Linked DNA regions of Homo sapiens: all the other regions are linked to region 1. The links are contacts of gene promoters, found by promoter capture Hi-C in blood cells and fetal thymus (Javierre and others, 2016). All regions are on one chromosome and are shown on one strand. Each heading gives the region's core, a stretch centred on a gene start or on the middle of the fragment in contact. The rest is flanking DNA. Distances are from core to core; before and after follow the strand shown. Region 1 holds the start of PCCA-AS1 (PCCA antisense RNA 1). Region 2 overlaps CLYBL (citramalyl-CoA lyase). Region 3 overlaps CLYBL-AS3 (CLYBL antisense RNA 3). Region 4 overlaps ZIC5 (Zic family zinc finger 5).

What was found. The method cuts DNA at HindIII sites, captures the fragments that hold promoters and counts their contacts. A CHiCAGO score of 5 or more calls a contact.
Region 2: a contact is called between a fragment that was not itself captured here and the fragment with the promoter of PCCA-AS1 in region 1, in 1 of 17 cell types (non-activated CD4 T cells). The highest score is 5.0, in non-activated CD4 T cells.
Region 3: a contact is called between a fragment that was not itself captured here and the fragment with the promoter of PCCA-AS1 in region 1, in 6 of 17 cell types (monocytes, activated CD4 T cells, naive CD4 T cells and 3 more). The highest score is 6.2, in monocytes.
Region 4: a fragment that was not itself captured here is called in contact with the fragment with the promoter of PCCA-AS1 in region 1 in 2 of 17 cell types (erythroblasts and M2 macrophages); the score reaches 6.3 in erythroblasts.

The regions. Positions count from the first base shown.
Region 1 is chr13:100,479,480-100,482,414 of GRCh38, forward strand. PCCA-AS1 (PCCA antisense RNA 1) reads right to left here and starts at 1,536. Exons shown (of 5, transcript NR_047686.1): 1 at 1,501-1,536. The region is part of intron 21 of PCCA (propionyl-CoA carboxylase subunit alpha); the gene reads left to right. It overlaps LOC107984574 (a long non-coding RNA gene), which reads right to left and starts at 1,728. Exons shown (of 3, transcript XR_007063850.1): 1 at 1,641-1,728; 2 at 782-951; 3 at 68-284. The HindIII fragment of the contact is 6,979 bases long and covers 1-2,935 here.
Region 2 is chr13:99,710,953-99,713,887 of GRCh38, forward strand. The region is part of intron 1 of CLYBL (citramalyl-CoA lyase); the gene reads left to right. Among named protein-coding and RNA genes, the nearest start is that of CLYBL-AS1, 17 kb to the right of the region's middle. The HindIII fragment of the contact is 5,637 bases long and covers 1-2,935 here.
Region 3 is chr13:99,922,900-99,925,834 of GRCh38, forward strand. All of the region lies in intron 1 of CLYBL-AS3 (CLYBL antisense RNA 3), which reads right to left. Among named protein-coding and RNA genes, the nearest start is that of CLYBL-AS3, 33 kb to the right of the region's middle. The HindIII fragment of the contact is 3,259 bases long and covers 1-2,935 here.
Region 4 is chr13:99,961,714-99,964,648 of GRCh38, forward strand. ZIC5 (Zic family zinc finger 5) reads right to left here. Exons shown (of 2, transcript NM_033132.5): 2 at 1,251-2,935. Among named protein-coding and RNA genes, the nearest start is that of CLYBL-AS3, 6.0 kb to the left of the region's middle. The HindIII fragment of the contact is 763 bases long and covers 1,158-1,920 here.

The sequences.
Region 1 (2,935 bases), core at 286-2,785:
AGCACGTATTTGGTATGTTACATGATTATATACTGTATTCCTGCAATAAAGTAAGCTAGAGAAAGTGTTAGGAAAATCATAACGACAAAATATATTTATTATTCATTAAGTGGAAGTGGATCATCTTAAAGATCTTGATCTTCATTGTCTTCACGTTGAGTTGGCTGAGGAGGAGGGGGCTTGATCTTGCTGTCTCAAGAGCAGCGGAGTCATAAGAAAATGCACATTTAAGTGGCCCCATGCAGTTCAAATCCATGTTGCTCAAGGCTCAACTGTACACCGAACTGAAAAATGATTCCATTTTTAGTAGGAAATGGCCTACTCTAAGTCCTACTGCTTCCCTTTGCACTTGATGGCAAGGGTCTTTAACTGTGTCAGTGGAGCTGGTTTGGCTCCACTGATAGAGACTCCCTGACCATCTGATAGGCCACTTTTGTTAGAGGAGAAGGTACCCCCTTGCCTACCTGTTCTTTTCTTACTTCATGGGTCTTGATTCCTGACTCAGGAGCACCCATTACAGAAAAGCCCTGGGACTAGATCTAATTTTATTTAATGAAAAACCTATGGAGCATTTACTCTTGCTTCTAATAAATTAACAAGTCAGGGCTTTCTTCTGAATAGGAGGGTCTCTTGACTCTTTGATATTTGACTTTTGAACCAGACTAGATGAGGCAGAGCTTCAGCACATATTTTACCAGTGTCTTCAGCAAATGCCTTTCTCTTTGCAAAGCTCCATATTACTACCAAAAATTAACCCAACTAAATTGTAATTTCTACTCACCCACATTTATTGAGTACTGTGTTTCCTTGAAAGATCTCAAACAAGGCACCTTCTTGCAAGATCTTCACCACCAGACCTTCATGATAGTCACCTCCTCATTAGGCTGAGACGCATACACAGTGATTACGTTCAGACACAGGGACTCCTGTGTCTTAAGACCTTGTGTGACCCTTGTAATTAAAGCATTACACTTTGCAAAGGCTGACAGTGGTATAGGGGCTGTCTGAAACTATTCAGCCATAGCCTGGTCTCTGCTTTCTTTTTACAAATGGGAGGTTGGCTAAGGCAGACACAGGGATGGCTAAGAGGGATAAAGGACGTGACTTCCATAGAACCTTTTGTTCCTAGAGGAACCTCTCCATGAAACACACAGTGAAACTAGATTAAACCAAAAAACGCCCTCAGCTCCAGCAGATCCTGAGCTACAAAGCACCTCTTCCCTACCGAGCCTTCTCACCCATGCGCACTGAGTTTCTGAGTATCAGAAAGTCAGGTTTCTGAATCCCTAGAGAAAGTAAAAATTTCCTTGGACACAATGGGTTTTCTTTGCTTCCTGCATGACAGTCACGAAGGGGAATCTGAAATAGAGAACTTGAATATGCGGCTTGCTGAAGGGAAGTGTACTGTACAGTAGCCCCCCTTCTCCACGGGGGATCCATGTCAAAATCCCCAGGGGATGCCTAAGACTGCGGATGGGACCGAACCCTGTATACGCTTGCCTTTAATGCCTTTTCCATTTCAGCTCGGCACTTAGCCCACACTGTGGCTGTAACTTTTGTAGTTTTAGGTACAGCAGCAAAACTAGCACAAATTTCTTTGTCCTTTTTCACAATTTCATGGATAGAAGATTGATTCTTACTGTAGATCTTAGCAATCTCAGCATACTTTTTTTTTTCTTGAGAACTTTCACCTTTTAACTAAAGGAAGGACTTCATGGCTGGTTTTTGGCATATCCAGATTGCCAGCATCATACTCTTGGAACTTTGAGGCCATTGTGAAGTCAAATAATAGTTCCTGCCAGGCACAGTGGCTCACACCTGTAATCCCAGCATTTTGGGAGTCCAAGGCAGGTGGATCACTTGAGCTCGGGAGTTTGAGACTAGCCTGGGCAACATGGCAAAACTCTGCCTCTACAAAAAACACAAAAATTCACCGGTCACGGTGGCACATACCTGTAGTCCCAGCTACTCGGCAGGCTGAGGTGGGAGCATGGCTTAAGCCCAGGAGGTGGAGGTTACAGCGAGCCAAGATCATGCCACTGCACTCCAGCCTGGGCGACAGAGCCAGCCTCTGTCTCAAAAATAAAAAAGGAACCTAAGCACTGAGACCCCCTGACAGTAGATCTGGTAACTGAGATGGCCACTAAGTGACTGGTTGGTGGTGGGGGTGTCTACAGCGTGGAGATGCTGGACCCCGAGAGAGAGGGTTTATGACCCAGGCAGGATGGAGCAGGACAGCACAAGATCTCCTCACACTACTCAGAATGACTCACAATTTAAAACTTATACATTGTTTATTTCTGGAATTTTCCATATAATGTTTCTGGACCATGGTTGACCACAGGTAAATGAAACCTTGGAAAGCTAAAACCTTGGATAAGGGGGGACTACTGTAATATAAAGTTTACAGTTCCTGGGGTGAAAGCTCAGGCAGACCCTATCTATGCATTATTACAACGTACCATCAATTCAAAACCATAAATTTGCAGAAACATCGTTGCTTTAATTCCTAAAATATTGAATATGAATAATAAAAATAATATATGCTTTGTCTTAGAAGCACCTTTTTAATATGATTGATGTGTATTGATCTGTTTCTTCATTCTAACATGAACATTTCTGTAACAGTCATTTCCCCTGAAATATCTAACCTGTGGGTACCTGAGACAGCTTGTCAGTTAGGAAGAACAGTGGTGGCGATAGCCACGTAGGGCTGGTTTGGTCGTGAGTGCAAGTGTGGTTGCAGCAGCTAGAGCAGAGGACTGTGTGGAGAACATGGGTCAGGTCAGAAGGCAGTAGCCAGGAGGGATGCAGAGTCGAGAGAGAATTTGTTGATTGGAATGACTCAGGTTGACTTTCAGGATGAAGAGAAGGGGCCAATAGAGAGGGAAGAGAGGACAGTTGATGAGGCAGGCTCCAAGAGAGGAGGGCAAAG
Region 2 (2,935 bases), core at 283-2,782, 770 kb before region 1:
TCTCGGCTCACTGCAACCTCCGTCTCCTAGGTTCAAGTGATTATCATGCCTCAGCCTCCTGAGTAGCTGGGATTACAGGCGTCTGCCACCACACCCAGCTGATTTTTGTACTTTTAGTAGAGAGGGGTTTTGCCAGGCTAGTCTTGAGCTCCTGGCCTCAAGTGATCTGACTGCCTTGGCCTCCCAAAGTGCCAGGATTACAGGTGTGAGCCACTGCTCACAGTTATCTATTTGTCTTAGTCCATTTAGGCTGCTATAACAAAATACCATAAACTGGGTGTCTTATAAGCAACAGAAATTTATTTCCCACACTTCTGGAGACTTGGAGGTCCAAGATCAGGCAGTGGCAGGTTCAGTGTCTGGTGCTAAGGAAGCACCTGCGCCTCCCGGTCCACAGACGCACACCTTCTCACTGCGTCCTCATATGACAGAAGGGGTGAGGGAGTCCGTCTTTTTTTTTTTTTTTTTTTTTTTGAGACGGAGTTTCGCTCTCGTTGCCCAGGCTAGAGTGCAATGGCGCAATCTCGGCACGCAACCTCCACTTCCCGGGTTCAAGCGATTCTCCTGCCTCAGCCTCCCAAGTAGCTGGGATTACAGGCATGCACCACCACGCCCGGCTAATTTTGTATTTTTAGTAGAGATGGCGTTTCTCCATGTTGGTCAGGCTGGTCTTGAACTCCCGACCTCAGGTGATCTGCCCACCTCAGCCTCCCAAAGTGCTGGGATTACAGGCGTGAGCCACCGCACGCAGCTTTTTTTATTTTTTATTTTTTAATATTTTTGAGACAGAGTCTTGCTGTGTCACCAGGCTGGAGTCCAGTGGTGCCATCTTGGCTCACGGCAACCTTCACCTCCTGGGTTCAAGCGATTCTCCTGCCTCAGCCTCCAGAGTAGCTGGGATTACAGGCGCCCACCATCACGCCCGGCTAATTTTTTGTATTTTTAGTAGAGACAGGATTTCACCATCTTGGCCAGGCTGGTCTAGAACTCCTGACCTCGTGATCCACCCGCCTTGGCCTCCCAAAGTGCTGGGATTACAGGCGTGAGGGAGTCTGTCTTTTATAAAGGTGCTGATTTCATTTATGAGAGCTCAGTCCTCGTGACTAATCACCAACCAAAGGCCTCACCTCCACATTTGATCACACTGGGAATGAAGACTTCAACATACTTTGCAGGGGACAGAAACATTCTGTCTATAGTACCATTAACTTTCTGCTATGGAAGTTGAAGACAGTTCTCTTTTGTCGTATTATACCCCTGATACACACTTCAGTGTTTATACTGTGCCAAGGAAAGCAGTGTTCACAGCTGAGCCATACGGTACACTACAATTTTCCTTTCTCATATAACTTTTTGTCCCCTTGGAGTTAGCAATTGACTTTTTTTTTTTTTTTTTTTTTGAGACAGGGTCTCGCTCTATAGCGCAGGCTAGAATGCAGTGGCGTGATCTCGGTTCACTGTGACCTCTGCCTCCTGGGCTCAAGCGATCCTCCCGCCTCAGCCTCCCAAGTAGCTGGGAATACAGGTGCGTGCCACCATACCCAGCTAATTTTTGTTTTTTTGAGTTTTTTTTTTGGTAGAGACAGAGTTTTGCCACATTGCCCAGGTTGGTCTCCAAGTCTGGAGCTCAAGAATCTCCCTGCCTTGGCCTCCAAAAGTGCTGGGATTACAAGTGTGAGCTACCACACCTGGCCAGTGATTGACTCTTTTGCTAAAACTAATTTTTTCTTCCAACTCTTTGACAAAGTCGTCAATATTAAGCAATATACCCTTACTACTTTTGATTTTGTTTTTAAAGGAATTCCTTCTGGAGTCTTCTATCCTGAACTTGTCGCTTTCTAGGCCAGCTGCATTTCTGTGTTTCTAAAACTTCCATTGTTTATAAAACACCATAATCCTGGCGTTTGCTCTGTTTGTACTCTGTATTTCCAGTATCTGGAAACCATGTCTTCTTTCTTGGCTTATTTCCTCATTCAGGGCTGTGTGTCTTCTAGTAGTTATGTGAAAAGAGGGTTCGTGAAAGTTAAATGTTTTTGAGGCTATATGTCTGAAGAGGTCTTTGGTGTTCTTCAGACTTCATGGAAAACATTTTCCCTAAGAATGTTAAAGGCATTGCTCCCTTTTTTGCTTCTAATGCTGCCATTGCTTTAAAATGGTGCCATTTTGATTCTTGATCCTTTTTCTGTAAATTTTTTTCTCTCTTGAAAATCTCTTTCTTGAAGATCTCTCTTGAAGATCTCTTTCTCCCTAGTCCTCTCAAACTTTGCATTGATGTACTTTGATGGGATCATTTTTGTTAATTATGTAGGTGTTCCATAGGCCTTTCAGTCTGAAAATTTATGTGTTTTAGTTCTAGGAGCTTTCTTTGTATTTCTCTATTTCTTTTTTTTTTTTTTTTTTTTTTTAAGACAGAGTCTTGGTCTGTCGCCCAGGCTGGAGTGCAGTGGTGTGATCTTGGCTCACTGCAACCTCCGCCTCCCAGGTCCAGGTGATTCTCCTGCCTCAGCCTCCTGAGTAGCTGGGATTACAGGCATCTGCCACCATGCCTGGCTAATTTTTGTATTTCTAGTAGAGACGGGGTTTCACCATGTTAGCTGGGCTGATCTTGAACTCCTGGCCTCAGGTGATCCGCCCTCCTTGGCCTTCCAAAGTGCTGGGATTACAGGCATGAGCCACCATGTCTGGCCTCAAATTTTTATTTTTGATAGCTTTTTCATGTTCTCTAATGTTTCTGATTGATTGATTGATTGAGAAAGGGTCTTGCTCTGTTGCCCAGGCTGGAGTGCAGTGGTGCAATCATGGCTCATTGCAGCCTCAACCTCCTGGGCTCAAATGATCCTCCTGCCTCAGCCTCCCAAGTAGCTGGGACTACAGGCACAAGACAGTATACCTGGCTAATTTTTAAATATATTTTTTTGTAGAGACAGGGTTTCGC
Region 3 (2,935 bases), core at 196-2,695, 560 kb before region 1:
GCGTGGGCGTGCTGGGAGAGGGTGGAAAGTGGGCAGATGGGAGGAGGCAATGCTGAAGATGTCACTGGAGTGAGTGGAAGTCGTGCAAAGGTATGGGGAAGCCACATGGGGATCGGAGAGGGAGTGGGGGATGTTTCCCCCTGTTGCAGCTGGTGCTTCAGGCACACAGGTGTTGGTCCTGAACAACCCATACCCAGGCCGTCTGGGGCCTTCCCTTCTGCCCCGGCCTGCCTGGTCTCTGCTGCCAGAGCAAGGTCTGCAGCTTCCGATCTCCCCGCCTTTCCCAAATATGCACGCCCTGTACCGCCGTCCCAGGCTCCGTGCCAGGCGGCAGCAGCCACTGTGCTCACACTCATGTGTCGTGTCTCTCCTCCCAGGTAACTTGTTTCCGTGTTAACAGGTAATCTTCCTGCTGAGGATGTCAGGCAACATGCCAACCTGGGAACGACCACCTTTGGGGCCAGATGGACATTTTGGTGCCCATGCAATCCCATTGCCAAGGTTACCACCTGTCTTCAAATAGGGCCCACCCAACAGAGTGAAGAATCTAGCGAGCGACCACTTGGTCCTACACACTCGAAGTATGAGTTCCTTAACAGAGGGACAATTATTCAGACTGGTGTCTTTTGTTTAGAGATGGACTCTTTAATGATGCCCTTACAGCCAGCCTCCCTCAATAAGTTACCACTTCGCACCCATTCGGGTGGCTATTTTCAGAAAAATGAAAAATAAGTGTTGGCAAGGATGTGGAGAAATTGGAACCTTTGTGCACTACTGGCCAGAATGTAAAATGGTGCAGCTAGGCACACAGTGGCTCATGCCTGTATTCCCAGCACTTTAGGAGGCCAGGGTGGGAGGATCACTTGAAGCCAGGAGTTCAAGACCAGCCCAGGCAACATAACAAGACCCGTGTCTCAAAAAAAAAAAAAAAAAAAAAAAGCTGCAGCTGCTTTGGAGAATAGTATGGCAGCTCCTCAAAAAATTAAACATAGAATTACCATATAATCTAGCAATTCTACCTCTGAGAATATACTCAAAATAACCGAAAGCAGGGACTCAAACAGATATCTGTACACCCACGTTCATAGCAACATTATTCACAGTAGCCAAAAGGTAGAAGCAACCCAGGTGTCTATTGATGGATGGAGAAACAAAATGTGGTATACACATACAATGGAATATTATACAGCCTTAAAAAGGAAGGAAGTTCTGATGCACACTACAACACAGATGAGCCTTGATTGAAGACATGATGCTATGGGAAGCAAGCCAGGCACAAAAGGACAGAGACTGTATGATTCGAGTTATATGAGGTAACTATAGTAGGCAGATTCATAGAGACAGAAAGTAAGATCGTGGCTGCCAGGAGCTGGAGGAAGAATGAATGGCAGTTGTTGTTTAAAGGGAACAGAGCTTCAGTTTGGGATCATAAAAAACTTCTGGAAACAGATAGTGAGGATGGTTGCTCAACAGTGTGAATGTACGCAATGGCAATGAACTGTACTCTTAAAAATGGTTAAACTGGGTTTTGTTTGGGGTTGGTTGGTTTGTTTTGAAACAGTCTCACTTTGTCGCCCAGGCTGAACTGCAGTGGTATGATCTCAGCTCACTGCAGCCTCAACTTCCAGGCTCAGGTGATCCTCCTGCCTCAGCCTCCAAAGTAGCTAGGACTACAGGTACACACTATCATGCCTGGCTAATTTTTCTATTTTTTTATAGAGATGGCATTTCACTATGTTGCTCAGGCTGGTCTCAAACTCCTGGAGTCAAGCAAGTCACCTGCTTCGGCCTCCCAAAGTGCTGGGATTACAGGTATGAGCCACCACACCTGTTCTAAACTGGTGATTTTTATGTTATGCTTTTTTTTTTTCTTTTTTTTTTTTTTTTTTTTTGAGTGGCTCACTGCAGCCTTGACCTCCTGGGCTCAGGTGATCCTCCCACCTCGGCCTCCCAAGTAGCTGAGACCACAGGCATGCACCACCATGCTTGGCTAATTTTTTTTATTTATTTTAGAGATAAGGTCTCACTATGTTGCCCAGGCTGATCTCGAACTCCTGGACTCAAGCGATCCTCCCACCTCAGTCTCTCAAAATGCTAGGGTTACAGGTGTAAACCACCATGCCTGGCCTGTTGCAAATATTTTATCACTGTAAAAAAAATTTTTAAACATCAATACCCCTTCTTTGCAGCCCTAAACCCAATTTGACTGTCCATGTGCCCTCCCAGAGCAATCATCTGGGGCCTGACACCCCACCCACAGCCCTCCAGGTGCCCTGCCTGCCTCTAGCATGGAGTGGGCCTCTCTGCCCCATGATTCTGGCCATCCCAGCTGGGGCTGTTGCCCATCTCTGGAGGGTTGAAACCTCAGCCTTCCCCACAGACCTCGCAGTGGCCTGGGCTTCTGCCTCTGTGGCCTGTGCTCGTGCTCCAACTCCAGCCCCTAAAGCCCAGGAGTAGACCTTATGAGACACTCAAACACAATTTCCATCTTCATCCTCCGATAATGCCCTAGACATGTGTTCAGTGCTTATTATGGGTTAGGCACAGTACTGAACCTCATTTAATTCTCACAACAATCCAACAAACTAGTTCTTATTGTTACCATCATCCCATTTTACAGATGAAAAACCCGAGGCTTGGAGACTCAGTAATTTGCCCAAGGTCCCAAAGCCAGGAAGGGGCCAATTCAGGATATGAAACGAGCATTCTCTTTCATGGCCCATGTTCAGCTAGGGTCCCACACCATGAGAAATCATTCATAAACTTAAATCCTGACGGGATCATCTTAATGCTTGCCCCCACTGATGCTAACATGCATATTTAGGAGAAAAGAGAAAATGTTTGCTATACTCTGGCTAGTGCTCACTCCTGAAAAAGAGATTGCAGAAGACGAGATGCAAACTAGAAGTCCCAATCTGTATAGAAATAACAAGTC
Region 4 (2,935 bases), core at 289-2,788, 520 kb before region 1:
TGCAAGGGCCACGTTTTGCCTAGGGAAGATGAAGTCTTTGATGATAGCCAACTTAGTGTCAATAAGTGGCTTTCTTTGAGACATATTCAGATGGGAACGTCTTGCTTGCCAATTGCCATAGAAATCTTAACACACCATGAAGATTGTCCGAGCGCCAAGCCTTCCGTTCTGGACTAAATTACTTTGAAGTGGCGCAGTACGAGCAGTGGTCAATTTTAACTCTATAGACTGGACAGAGAATGCTGGGAGTGGGAGATTGTGCGTTTTAAAGCAGAAAATAAGAAGGGGAAACTTGTTTTATACACTCTATACAAGGTTCTGCTCATTGTCAGATATCTTTTATCTTTTATATTTCCCATGAATGATTCATGTCTTGGTGGCTTTGTGTCACCCTTCTTTTCACAAGAAACTTCATTAGAGAGCTATAAGTTTTCCCATTGATTGGGGCCCTCATTTATGAGTGTTTTTCTCCTTCGTGTGCTGGTTATTGTCATCTGAGTTAAAACAACTCTTTGCAACCTGTTTCACCTTTACTACATTTAACAAACCTGACTTTTAAAAGCCACTATAACCTTTCAGAGAAATGCTTATTGACATTACTAGCAGTTGCTTTTAACTATCTGACTTTTATCAGTTTTGTATCTGCTAACAAAAACACAAGCAAACATCCAGCCTTGTAAATGTGCATAGCCAAACACCTGCATTTAAGCCACTTGAATATTTTGCTGCCATGCAAGAATCTAATTGTTCAACACACCTGGCCCAAAATGCTGAGCTTAAATTACCAATAGCCACTCAACTTCCAGAACAAACTACAGTAAAATTGCATCTTGATCTCCCACGCCATAAGAGGCATTTGATGCCCACTACTCAATTTCATTCAATACCTATCTCAGCCCCTGACTGATTTTGCTTTCACCTTCTTTTTGTCTAGAAGCCTCACCGTCCCTTCCTCCACATTTTCTTTATTCTTTTTTTTCCTTTTGGAGGCTGGGCACCAAAGAAATGCTAAAATTCACTTTTTGGCTTTTCACTGATTAGAATCAATCAGGATATTACTTATTTTAACAAATAAATGCAGTAACCCAAAAGATTTATGCTACTGTAAGTATAACCTGCAAGGCTTAGTCTTCATAAATATCTGTGTTTCCTAGATAAGCTTGTAAGTTGTTAAGTTAAACCAGGCTGCAAAAATATTGTATTGCTTGGGGAGAGGCTGAGAAATCAAGAGACCAAGGGAAGACATTCACTCCATTAGCAACCTGTTCTATTTGTATGAGAGATATGCCATTATGTAAAACATAAGCAATAATAACAAGAATACCTTTATTAAATTTGTTACTTCATAATCATTCTTGCTTGCTCTCTATTGGAGGTACACATTTTTTTTTATTTTAGGTGTATCAAGAACCAATAAATCTGTGGCAAAGAGTTAACCTATGCATGGTAAAATACATAAAATACATATTCCTTTGTTTCATAATAAATAAACCTGTAGCATAATAAAGAATAGTGCAAACTACCATTGAAAAAGTTGTATAAATAAAACAACTCATTATACATCAGGAATATTTTGTTCTAATAAGTTTACGATACATAAATTATCCCCCCAAAAGTTCATACCTTTTCTATTTGAAAGGGCTTTGAAAGTGAATAATATGAAAATCAAATAAACTTTTAAAATGTAAAATTATCTCATATTCAAGTTTTAAGGTCTTTTTCTTTATAAAGGAGGGTCTGCATGTTTCATATTCATCACAACAATCTGAAGACAACATTGAAAGGCTTTCCAAGTGACAGCACCATGCACTGTACTAGTAATATAATATATCTATAAACTATATATAATCTTATCAACACAATGCAAAAAAGACATGCAGGAAGAGTCTTGGTTTTCACATTACGTTGTTCATTCAAGTAAGCTTAAAAATATATTTTTCCATTTTCTTTCCTTTTTTTTTTAAATAAACCATGGATCATAAATGACAATCTTTCACCAAAATGTATAATATAATTCTTTGGTGTGCTTTGAACTCTTCCAGGAAAGAAAAAAAAAAAGGATGATGTCTGAAAATAAATTAATTCAACTGTACAAATAATAGTGTTCACATACAAGTTATTAACAATGACAAGACTACATCAACCACTCACAGCACACAAAACAAATTTCTACAAACCCTGGGGAGGGGGTGTCTTCGGGGTCTCTAAGGATAAATTAGTGCTCTTTAGTGTATCTGTAGGATGTTTCTGATGGACTACATTTTGCACAGGAGATGTGTTGTACCAACCGAAAATAAATCGACTAAGAGTTATTGTCCTAGGTCCTTGACCTTTTTTATCCTAGCTTGACAGCTCTGGCAAAGGTCACACATTCATCAGTGTTTGGTGGTAACTATAAACCTTTTAAAAATTTTTAATATGTATGGCAACTCCCTCCCCTCTTTTAATGTAAATCATACACTTCACACACTGTCATTTTCAAATGGATTCCAGTTTGGTGTGCTCAGTGCTCAGGTGGAAGAAAATGCATTAAAATGCAGTTTCAGGCATTGAAAAATAGACTTTTTAAAAGGCTGATACAACAGTATAAAAGAGGTGTTGGCCTGTTTTAAAAACAACAGCTTTCCAAAAAAATAGGCATGATGCCATCATCACACCTCCTCAAGACTTGACTGTGAATGTTGGCATCCCAAAGAACTTAGGATCGAAAACAGAATCTCTTTATTACACAAGAAGTTTGGACACAGTTAGGAGGCAGTATCTGAGAATTCAGATAAAAAAAAAAAAACATATAGGAAAAAGAAAGCACTTGAATTTCTTCTATTTTATAAAATATCACAGTTTCACAGTTGTCTTTTGCAGCAGCTTTTCTTCTCTCCACTTTTGCTTGAACAATCACAGTAGCACAAGATATGGAGATATATTAAGGTTGCTG